Linked DNA regions of Homo sapiens: region 2 is linked to region 1. Evidence: promoter capture Hi-C in 16 types of primary human blood cells and fetal thymus (Javierre and others, 2016). All regions are on one chromosome and are shown on one strand. Each heading gives the region's core, a stretch centred on a gene start or on the middle of the fragment in contact. The rest is flanking DNA. Distances are from core to core; before and after follow the strand shown.

Region 1 (4,090 bases), core at 236-2,735:
GTGTCTATGTGACACAGTGTGAAATGCCACTTGTCCATAACAATGTGTGCTGTAACACAGGCAGGTTGTATTATTATTATTTTTTTTCTTTTAAATCAATGTCTCGCTCTGTCGCCCGGCTGGAGTGCAGTGTGCAGTGGCTCACTGCAGCCTCAAACTCCTGGGCTCAAGCAATCCTCCCGCCTCACCTCACCCTCCTGAGTAGCTGGGACTACAGGTGCCTGCCACCATGCCTGGCCAGGATGCATGATCCCCCCTACATGTATCTATGTCTTTGTGTGGCATTCTGAGTCTGTGTCCGATACTGTCCTTCCGTCTGGGTGTGACATTCACCATGCTTGTCCATGTGTATGTAGCATCTATTGTGTGAATTTAACATCTTGTGACACTGTGTCCAAACATGTCACCACATTTGACATTCTCTAGGTGAGTCTTGCAATGTGATAACATGTGATTTTGCGTGGTTCTGTCTCTGCAAGATCCCTACATCTGTTTATCCTGATGTCAGTGTGACATAGTATGTGAGATACCTAGATATGACATCGTGTGTTGTGACATTCTTGGATGCATGGATGGGATATTGAAACACATGTTTGCATCTTGGATGACATAACTGTGTGTGTGTGGATCGCCATGTAAGTGACATCTTACTAGGTGTACACGACGTGGTGCCCCTGTGTGTCTGTGCATGGTTCTGACCTGTGGCAGCTGCAAGGCTAGGTATGTGTGGCACCTCCCAGTGTATCTGGGCCACTAGGGCTGTTGTGTGTATGTGTGTGACATCATGTCCTGTGTGACGCTGTGTGTCACTATTTTCAGTGTAAGGCTGTGTTCGGGGGGGGGGGTTGTGTTATGATAAACCCCCCCTTTTTTCTACCCCTCAGCATCCAGCTCCCGAAGAGGGAGCCCCAAGCCCCTCCGTCCGTCCCCTCACCCACAGCCGCAGTGACTGAGCATATTAGCGCGTCCAGGAGCACGCGGCATGGGGGTGGGGGGAGGCCAGGCTGCGGCTATTGTTCTGAGGGTGCCAAGCCCCCCAGCCTCCCCTTCTTCCTCTACCCCCACCAGGCTGTTGGAGCCCGCAGCGCCAGCAGACAAAGGCGCCACAAACCCCCAGTGGCGCAGCCCCCTCCCCCCGCGGCCGTCCTCTCCAGCGTGCAAGCCCCCCAGACTCGGCCCACACCACCCCCCATTCAACCCCAACCCCGGCGGGAAGGCGCAGCTGGGGCACCTCTGGCGCAGCTGGACCGGGCGCAGCATCCCGGGCCCCGCCCTGCAGCAGTACCCGGAGCGGCGGCTTTTGCGGGGAGGGCCGGGACAATGTCTAGGGGATCGGGGGTCTACCTCTTGGTGCGGCGGAACATACTGCCGCCGGGGAAGGAGGGCATCGAGAAATTAGAAAGCGCGGTCCAGAGAGAGTCAGACATGACCCGGCGGCGGCGACATGGTGGCAGGTGCGGCAGCAGCGGCGGAGGCGGCGGCGGCGGCGGCGCGGGGAGCAAGCGCGCGGGGCGGAGGCTGCAGCCGCCGCAGCGGGCAGGGGAGGGCAGGGAAGGGGAGGGCCCTGCGGCTGCAGCCGGCCGGGAGGGGGCGCTGCTGCGTGCCGGCGAGCCAGGCCCCGCCCGCGCACTCGCCTGGCGCCCCCACCCCGGCGGGAGAAGGGGCGGCCAGCCCCCGCCACGTCTCTCCCCAGGCTCACCTGCTGCTTTTCCGGGGCAGGGGCAAATCCTTCTGGAAGGCAAAGGGGCAAAACGATGAAGGTCAGCGTGGACCTGCCGTTGCTGCCCACAAGCATTATCAACTCCCTGGAGGAGCAGAAGCAGGGTAAGACAGGCCCCTCTTCAGCACTGTCACTTTCACCCTTGGCCATGCACTGCGGGCCAAGTTTCTTGGGGGAGAGGATCCCTGGGTGATTCCTCTCCTGACCCTCAGAGACCAACAGAGGCCCACGTACACAGGCGGGGCGCCATATAAAGGCAAGTGAGTTGGCATATCAGCGTGTGTTTGTGCAAATGAAATAGGAATCATTATTTGAAAAATATGTCTTGAGCACCTACTGTATGCTGACCCAATCCTAGGCACTAGGGACACAGTAGTGAATAAATTACAAGTCCGGTGTGGTGGTGTGCACCTCTAGTCCCAGCTACTTGGGAGGTTGAGGCAGGAGAATCGCTTGAGTCCAAGGAAACACCAGCGTGGGCAACACAGCAAGACTCTCTGTCTCAAGGAGAAAAAAAAAAAAGTTTCTGGCCTTTTGGGACTAGTATTTATAGGGTAAAGGGGACATTAAACAAGATTAGTGTAGAAGTGAACGAAATCATTTTAGACAATAATTAGTCTTATGAATAAATTAAACAGGGTGATGTGATGGACAATGGCTAGGATGGAGACACATTGTCAGACAGGGCTGCTCTGTGGAGGTGACTTTTAAGCTGGTTGCTGAAAGATAAGAGCCAGCCATGGGAGGATCTGTGGAGAGAGCATTCCAGGTGGAGGGAACTGCAAGGGCAAAGGCCTGGAGGCGGGAATAAGCTTAGCGTACTCAATGAATGAATGAAAGGTTGAATGAATGAAAGGTTGAAAGAATGAATGACTCATCTACACCTCAGCAGATCTATCTGACTCCCAGCTAGAGTCATAGAGTTGGGGTAGGGGGTGGGGGGTAGGTAAGTAGAGTGACTCACAACTGAGATTTAAAATGGGAACCACGGAGGCTGAGGTGGGAGAATCTCTTGAGCTCAGGAGGTCGAGGTTATAGTGAACTATGATTGCACCACTGCTGGAGTAAGACACCCTCTCAATTAACAATAAATAAATAAATAATAAAAAGTTTAAAAAATAAAAAAATAAAAATGGAAATTCAGGTGATGGCCGCATAGTCATTTTTTATAATGACAATAATAATAATTAGTGAGTATTAACTTTATGTGTCTGCATTTGAAGAAGGTCACCTTCCATTTGTCAAGCTCTTAGGAAGTCACTGTAGGGATCAGGAGATATGGGGTCTTGGCTTTTTTCTGAGGAAAGGAATGGGGTACAAGGGGCAACACCTGCCAGCCAGTTTTCTATCCACAGGGTGAGGTGGAAGGAAGGAAACTGAGTGGGGCTGCAGGTGGAAAGATTTGGGGGAGAGTTTCAAAAGGCCTTTGGAGGGGACTCCAACAAAAGGAAAATGAGGGATGTCCTAGACATTTCTAGGATCTCTAAAAGCAAAAAGCCTAGGTTCAAATCTCAATTCTGCTTTTTATGACCTTGGCAAATGACCTTCCAATAGTCCCGTGTCTCCTTGAGGATCTTAGGAGTTGATGCAGATGCCTAGCCCCTTAGCATGGTGCCTAGCACATAGCAAGTGCTCAATAAATACTAAGTCTGGAGAACAGGCGTTATTAAGGAGGGACATGCTGCATGACAGAGGATGGGCCACAGCGTCCTCCCACCCCGTTGTACAACGGACAAACATATAGGCGGGGCCAAAGGGCAGCCCTGCCCTCCCGAGCCACGGGTGACCGATAATCCAAACCAGGTTTTCCCTCTGTCTTTGCATGACCGGAGTGAATGAGGACCAGTCGACCTGGCTGCGTGTCTGCAATGGCCCAAGCGAAATCAAGACCTGGATTTTCTGGCCACAGAGCCCAGGGTGTCCAGATCCGGGTAACCGGCCTTGGAGGGTAAGCCCCTGGAGGGCTTTTAAGCACCACCCGAAGAAGACCTGGAACCCAGCCCCACCCGCTAGCGCCCCCAAACATTCTAGGGACGAAGAAAGGGTCAAACTGGAGCGGCGGAAGTTCGGGTCTTTGGCGTCAGTGTAAACAGACGCCACCTCCAATCTCAGCTGCAGAGCCGCTCGGCCAAGTGGATTCCGCTTCTCCCGCACAGGATTAATAGTTGACACTGCAGACAGGGCATTCGAACTCAGGATGCTGTCTACATATAAGATCCCAGGGCGTGGTGGCTCACGCCTGTAATTCCAGCGCTTTGGGAGGCCGAGGCGGGTGGATCACCTGAGGTCAGAAGTTCAAGACCAGGCTGGCCAACATGGTGAAACCCACTCTCTACTAAAAATACAAAACTAGCCGGGCATGTTGGCATG
Region 2 (4,540 bases), core at 2-2,501, 150 kb after region 1:
CTGGAGCTCCTGCCCCTGACTGTCCCTCCCCCCGGGCTTCCTTCCTACCCGAGCCCCTGGTGGTGTGGGGGAGGGCGGGCCTTGGGAGAGCCTCGACTGAGTGTTGCCTGATCCTCCTCCTGCAGTCCTTTGATGTGGGCCACAGCTTTCCCATCACTGGGATCCAGTACTCCGTGGGAGCCTTGTACACCACATCCACTGACAAGACCATCCGGGTGAGGCTCCTGCCCAGCCCCCACCCCAGGACAGTCCCTGCCTCTCCCCTACCTCCATCAGCCAGGGGCACACCTCTTGACCTCGCCCATTGCCCCTCACTAGGTGCACGTGCCCACAGACCCACCAAGGACCATTTGCACCCGAAGGCATGACAATGGGCTCAATAGGGTAAGGTCCTGCCCCATGTGCCCTGCCCAGCTGGCCAGAGCGCCATCGTCCCTGACTCCTCATGTTCCTCCCCCTTCCCAGGTCTGTGCTGAGGGCAACCTGGTGGTGGCCGGCTCTGGAGACCTGTCGCTAGAGGTCTGGAGGCTGCAGGCCTGAGCAGGTGGGCGTGGATGTGGATACTGCCTGCCGGAGGCTGGGCTTCCTCCTCTGTTCTTGGGGGACCATCCCCAATGTTGGTGCTGCCTCCGCCCCGTGGGCCTAGGGCACAAGGAGTCCCAGCCACATTCGGGTGAGCGTCCTGGCCTGGGCCCTATGCCCGGGGGAAGGGTGAAATTGGGGTTCAGGCCCACCCAGGGGGCCGCTTCCCACTCTTGGGCCCTGGTTTTGTTATGATTTGGATGCCCCGCTCTCAGTTGAGAGCGAAGGAGAAATAAACCTGACATGTTGGTGCTTGGGCCTGGAGTGTGAGTGTGGTTTGCCTGCTGGGGTTCTGCCTGTGCCTGCTTGGGGCTGTGGGGCTGCGGGCCTGCATGGGAGTGACTGGGAGAGATAGCAAGTCTGGGCTGGGGGTGCATGTCAGCTGTTGCTGTGCATTTGAAGAGGGAGAGTCCTGAGGATCGTGGGCATCTGTGTCTATGATGTCACGTGTGTGTGTGATGTGTGACGCGTGTGGTGTATAGATTATGACTCAAATCCTGGCCATTTGTCTGCACGGTGGGAAAGGGTACCTGCTCAGGCTATCCCATGGGTGCTGGCGAGGGCAAGAGGGATGGCGTGCTCTCCGTCTGGGGCTCCAGGGTGTGTGTGTGCTGCTGTGGCTGTGACCCCGGGGGCAGGCAGGGAGGGAGGCTGGGCCAGGTACGCACCTGGCCCCTGCAAGCCCAAAGTCCCTCTGGTCTCCCATCTCAGCCCAGCTCAGCCATGCCCTGAGAAGTATTCACTTCATGTTTATTGAGGCCCCCTGGTTTGCCCAGGCCACAGGGTGGCATTGCCCTGGGTTCATAGGATGGCATAGGGCTTCTTCTCCTTGAAGGAGTTGGTGGCGGCCGGGATGCCCACAAGGAAGGGGTCATTCTTGGCCTGCTCCGTGCAGAACTTCAGCAGATCGGCGGCCATCTTTGGACACCTGCAGACCAACTGGTTCAGCCAGACCAGACCCAGGCATGCACCTGTCCCCTGGCCCATGTGTTCCCACCTCTTCCCGCCTCCTGCACTGGCCCCGACCCTCACCTTCACTTGGTCGATGCCTGCCTCCATCTGGAGCTGCTCCACTGCCCAGAGGGCCTGCCCAATGTCACTGTTGATGGCCACCTTGCTGGACATCTGGGTAAAGTGGGCAGGCCGTGGGCAGCAGGCCCAACCTCAGTCCCCTAGGGGGAGCCTAGGGCTGCCCGAGGGTTCCCACACCTCCTTCTATGTTCCTTGGGGGCTGCAGGATGAGGGTGGCTGCTCCTGGACCCATCAGGCCCACACACCTCGGCTAAGGGCTCCGGCCCAAGTCACCTCTGGCTGCCTGGTCCTCTGGTGGCCACCCTGCTGTGGCTCCCTCCCCAACCCAGCCTGTCCTCTTCAACCCCCTTTTCTCCCTCGGCTACCCCTGCAAAGACTTTGAAGCCAGGGCTCTCATGGAGTGAAATGTCACCAGCTGCAGCAGCAGCTGCTGCCTCGGCTGAGGGGGTCCCTGCCCCAGGAGGCCCTGTGGCTCCTCTGGTGTCATGTGTCACCTGGGTCCCTGTGGGCTAGGTGCCTTGGCTGGGGGAGTGAGGAGGCCCTGGCCTCCCCCTGGCCTGCTGGATCTCCTGCTAACTGTTCCCAACACATCTGCTTTGTCAGCCTCTGCCATCTCCAACATGCAGCCTTGCCTCTCCTCCTGTTGTCGCCACTGCTCAGGCTCAAATCTCCAATGCCTTCGTTCTTTTTTTTTTTTTTTTTTTTTTTTTTGAGAGAGAGTCTTGCTCTATCACCCATGTTGGAGTGCAGTGGTGCGATCTCAGCTCACTTTCAACCTCCACCTCCCGGGCTCAAGTGATTCTCCTGCCTCAGCCTCCTGAGTAGCTGGGATTACAGGCGTATGCTACCACACCCGGCTAATTTTTTTTTTTTTTTTTTTTTTGAGATGGTATTTCGCTCTTGTTGCCCAGGCTAGAGTGCAATAGCGTGATTTCGGCTCACTGCAACCTCCGCCTTCTGGGTTCAAGCGATTCTTCTGCCTCAGCCTCTCGAGTAGCTGGGATTACAGGCATGTGCCACCATGCTCGGCTAATTTTTTGTATTTTTAGTAGAGATGAGGTTTCACCATGTTGGTCAGGCTGGTCTTGAACTCCTGATCTCAGGTGATCCACTTGCCTCAGCCTCCCAAAGTGCTGGGATTACAGGCATGAGCCACTGCGCCCGGCCACACCTGGCTAATTTTTGTATTTTTAGTAGAGAAGGGGTTTCACCATGTTGGCCAGGCTGGTCTCGAACTCCTGACCTCAAGTGATCCACCTGCTTCGGCCTCCCAAAGTGCTGGGATTACAGGTGTGAGCCATCGTGCCTGGCCTTCTTTTCTTTTTTTAAGCCCAGGTTCTCGCTCTGTCGTCCAGGCTGGAGTGCAGTGGTACAATCATAGCTCACTGTAACTTCAAACTCCTGGGCTCAAGTGATCCTCTCAACTCAGCCTCCTGATTAGCTAGAATTATAGGCGTGAGCCACCGTGCCCTGCTAATTTATGTTTTTAACTTTTTGTAGAGATGGTTCTTACTATGTTGCCCAGGCTGGTCTTGAACTCCTGGCCTCAAACGATCCTCTTGCCTTGGCCTTCCAAAGGAATTATAGGCATAAGCCACTGAGCCCTGCCCCGAGATTCTAATATGTGCCCAGCACTGTGCAAAAACCCAAATTAGCAATGAAACAAGACAAAACCTTGCCCTCATGGAGCTGCCTTTCTAGTTAGGCAGGGATGGACAACAGAAAATGTACTCAGTGAAAGAGTATACATGTGAAAGGGCATATGAAAGAAGAATAAAATCAAAGTAAAGGGGAGAGGAGTGGTCAGGGCAGGCCTCTCAGAGGAGGTGACATTTGAACTTAGGCCCAAAGGAGGAGAAGGAACTGAGAAATGGGGTGTTCTAGGCAGAAGGAGCGGCAAGTACCTGACTCCTTGGACAAAAAAGAGCTTGGTGGGTTCCAGGAATAGCAAAGAGGTCTGTGTAGCTGGAGAGGAGAGAGGGAGGGAGGGCCAGCATGGTGGGAGATGGCAGCAGGGAGGTTGAGAGGTGCCCTTTAAGGCCACTGTGAAAAGCTTGGATTTTACTCCCAGGGGGAAGCTACCATTAGGAGGTTTTAACAGTGACATGTTTGATTTATGGTTAAAGAGCTGTGGCATGCACCTGTAGTCCCAGCTACTGGGGAGGCTGAAGTGGGAGGATCACTTGAGGCCAGGAGGTCGAAGCTGCAGTGAGGTGTGATTGTCCCACTGCACTCCAGCCCTGGTGACAGAGTGAGACCCTGCATCAAAAAAAAAAGCTCAGCGGCTGGGCACGGTGGCTCATGCCTGTAATCCCAGCACTTTGGGAGGCTGAGGTGGGCGGATCACGAGGTCAGGAGATCAAGACCATCCTGGCTAACATGGTGAAACCCCGTCTCTACTAAAAATACAAAAAATTAGCTGGGCGTGTGGCGGGCGCCTGTAGTCCCAGCTACTTGGGAGGCTGAGGCAGGAGACTGGCGTGAACCCGGGAGGTGGAGCTTGTAGTGAGCCGAAATCACACCACTACACTCCAGCCTGGGCGACAGAGCAAGACTCCGTCTCAAAAAAAAAAAAAAAAAAAAAAAAGCTCTCTGATTTTAGCTGTTAGGTGGGAGATGGGTTGGAGGATACCAAAGCCAGCTTGCAGGCTATGGGGATAAAGAAAACACCTGGATTTCGGACCTACTTTATAGGTAGAGGTTGGCAGACATGCTGAGAAGGATGGATGTGGGGTGTGAGAAAAGGGGAGACAGCAAGCTGCGCTCCTCATTTTTAATTTTTATTTATCTATTTTTGAGACGGAGTTTCGCTCTGTTGCCCAGGCTGGAGTGCAGTGGCACCATCTCAGCTCACTGCAACCTCCACCTCCCGGGTTCAAGTGATTCTCCTGCCTCAGCCTCCTGAGTAGCTGGGATTATGGGTGTG

What was found. The method cuts DNA at HindIII sites, captures the fragments that hold promoters and counts their contacts. A CHiCAGO score of 5 or more calls a contact.
Region 2: a fragment that was not itself captured here is called in contact with the fragment with the promoter of MAST1 in region 1 in 3 of 17 cell types (erythroblasts, megakaryocytes and monocytes); the score reaches 8.1 in erythroblasts.

The regions. Positions count from the first base shown.
Region 1 is chr19:12,835,910-12,839,999 of GRCh38, reverse strand. It overlaps MAST1 (microtubule associated serine/threonine kinase 1), which reads right to left and starts at 1,485. Exons shown (of 26, transcript NM_014975.3): 1 at 1,345-1,485. The coding sequence starts at 1,427. RefSeq lists silencers at 1,405-1,454, 1,505-1,684, 1,689-1,872. The HindIII fragment of the contact is 9,607 bases long and covers 1-2,534 here.
Region 2 is chr19:12,685,216-12,689,755 of GRCh38, reverse strand. It overlaps GNG14 (G protein subunit gamma 14), which reads right to left and starts at 1,758. Exons shown (of 1, transcript NM_001316692.2): 1 at 1,334-1,758. The coding sequence starts at 1,707. The coding sequence ends at 1,384. It overlaps FBXW9 (F-box and WD repeat domain containing 9), which reads left to right. Exons shown (of 10, transcript NM_032301.3): 8 at 126-215; 9 at 319-384; 10 at 466-840. The coding sequence ends at 540. The HindIII fragment of the contact is 4,836 bases long and covers 1-3,669 here.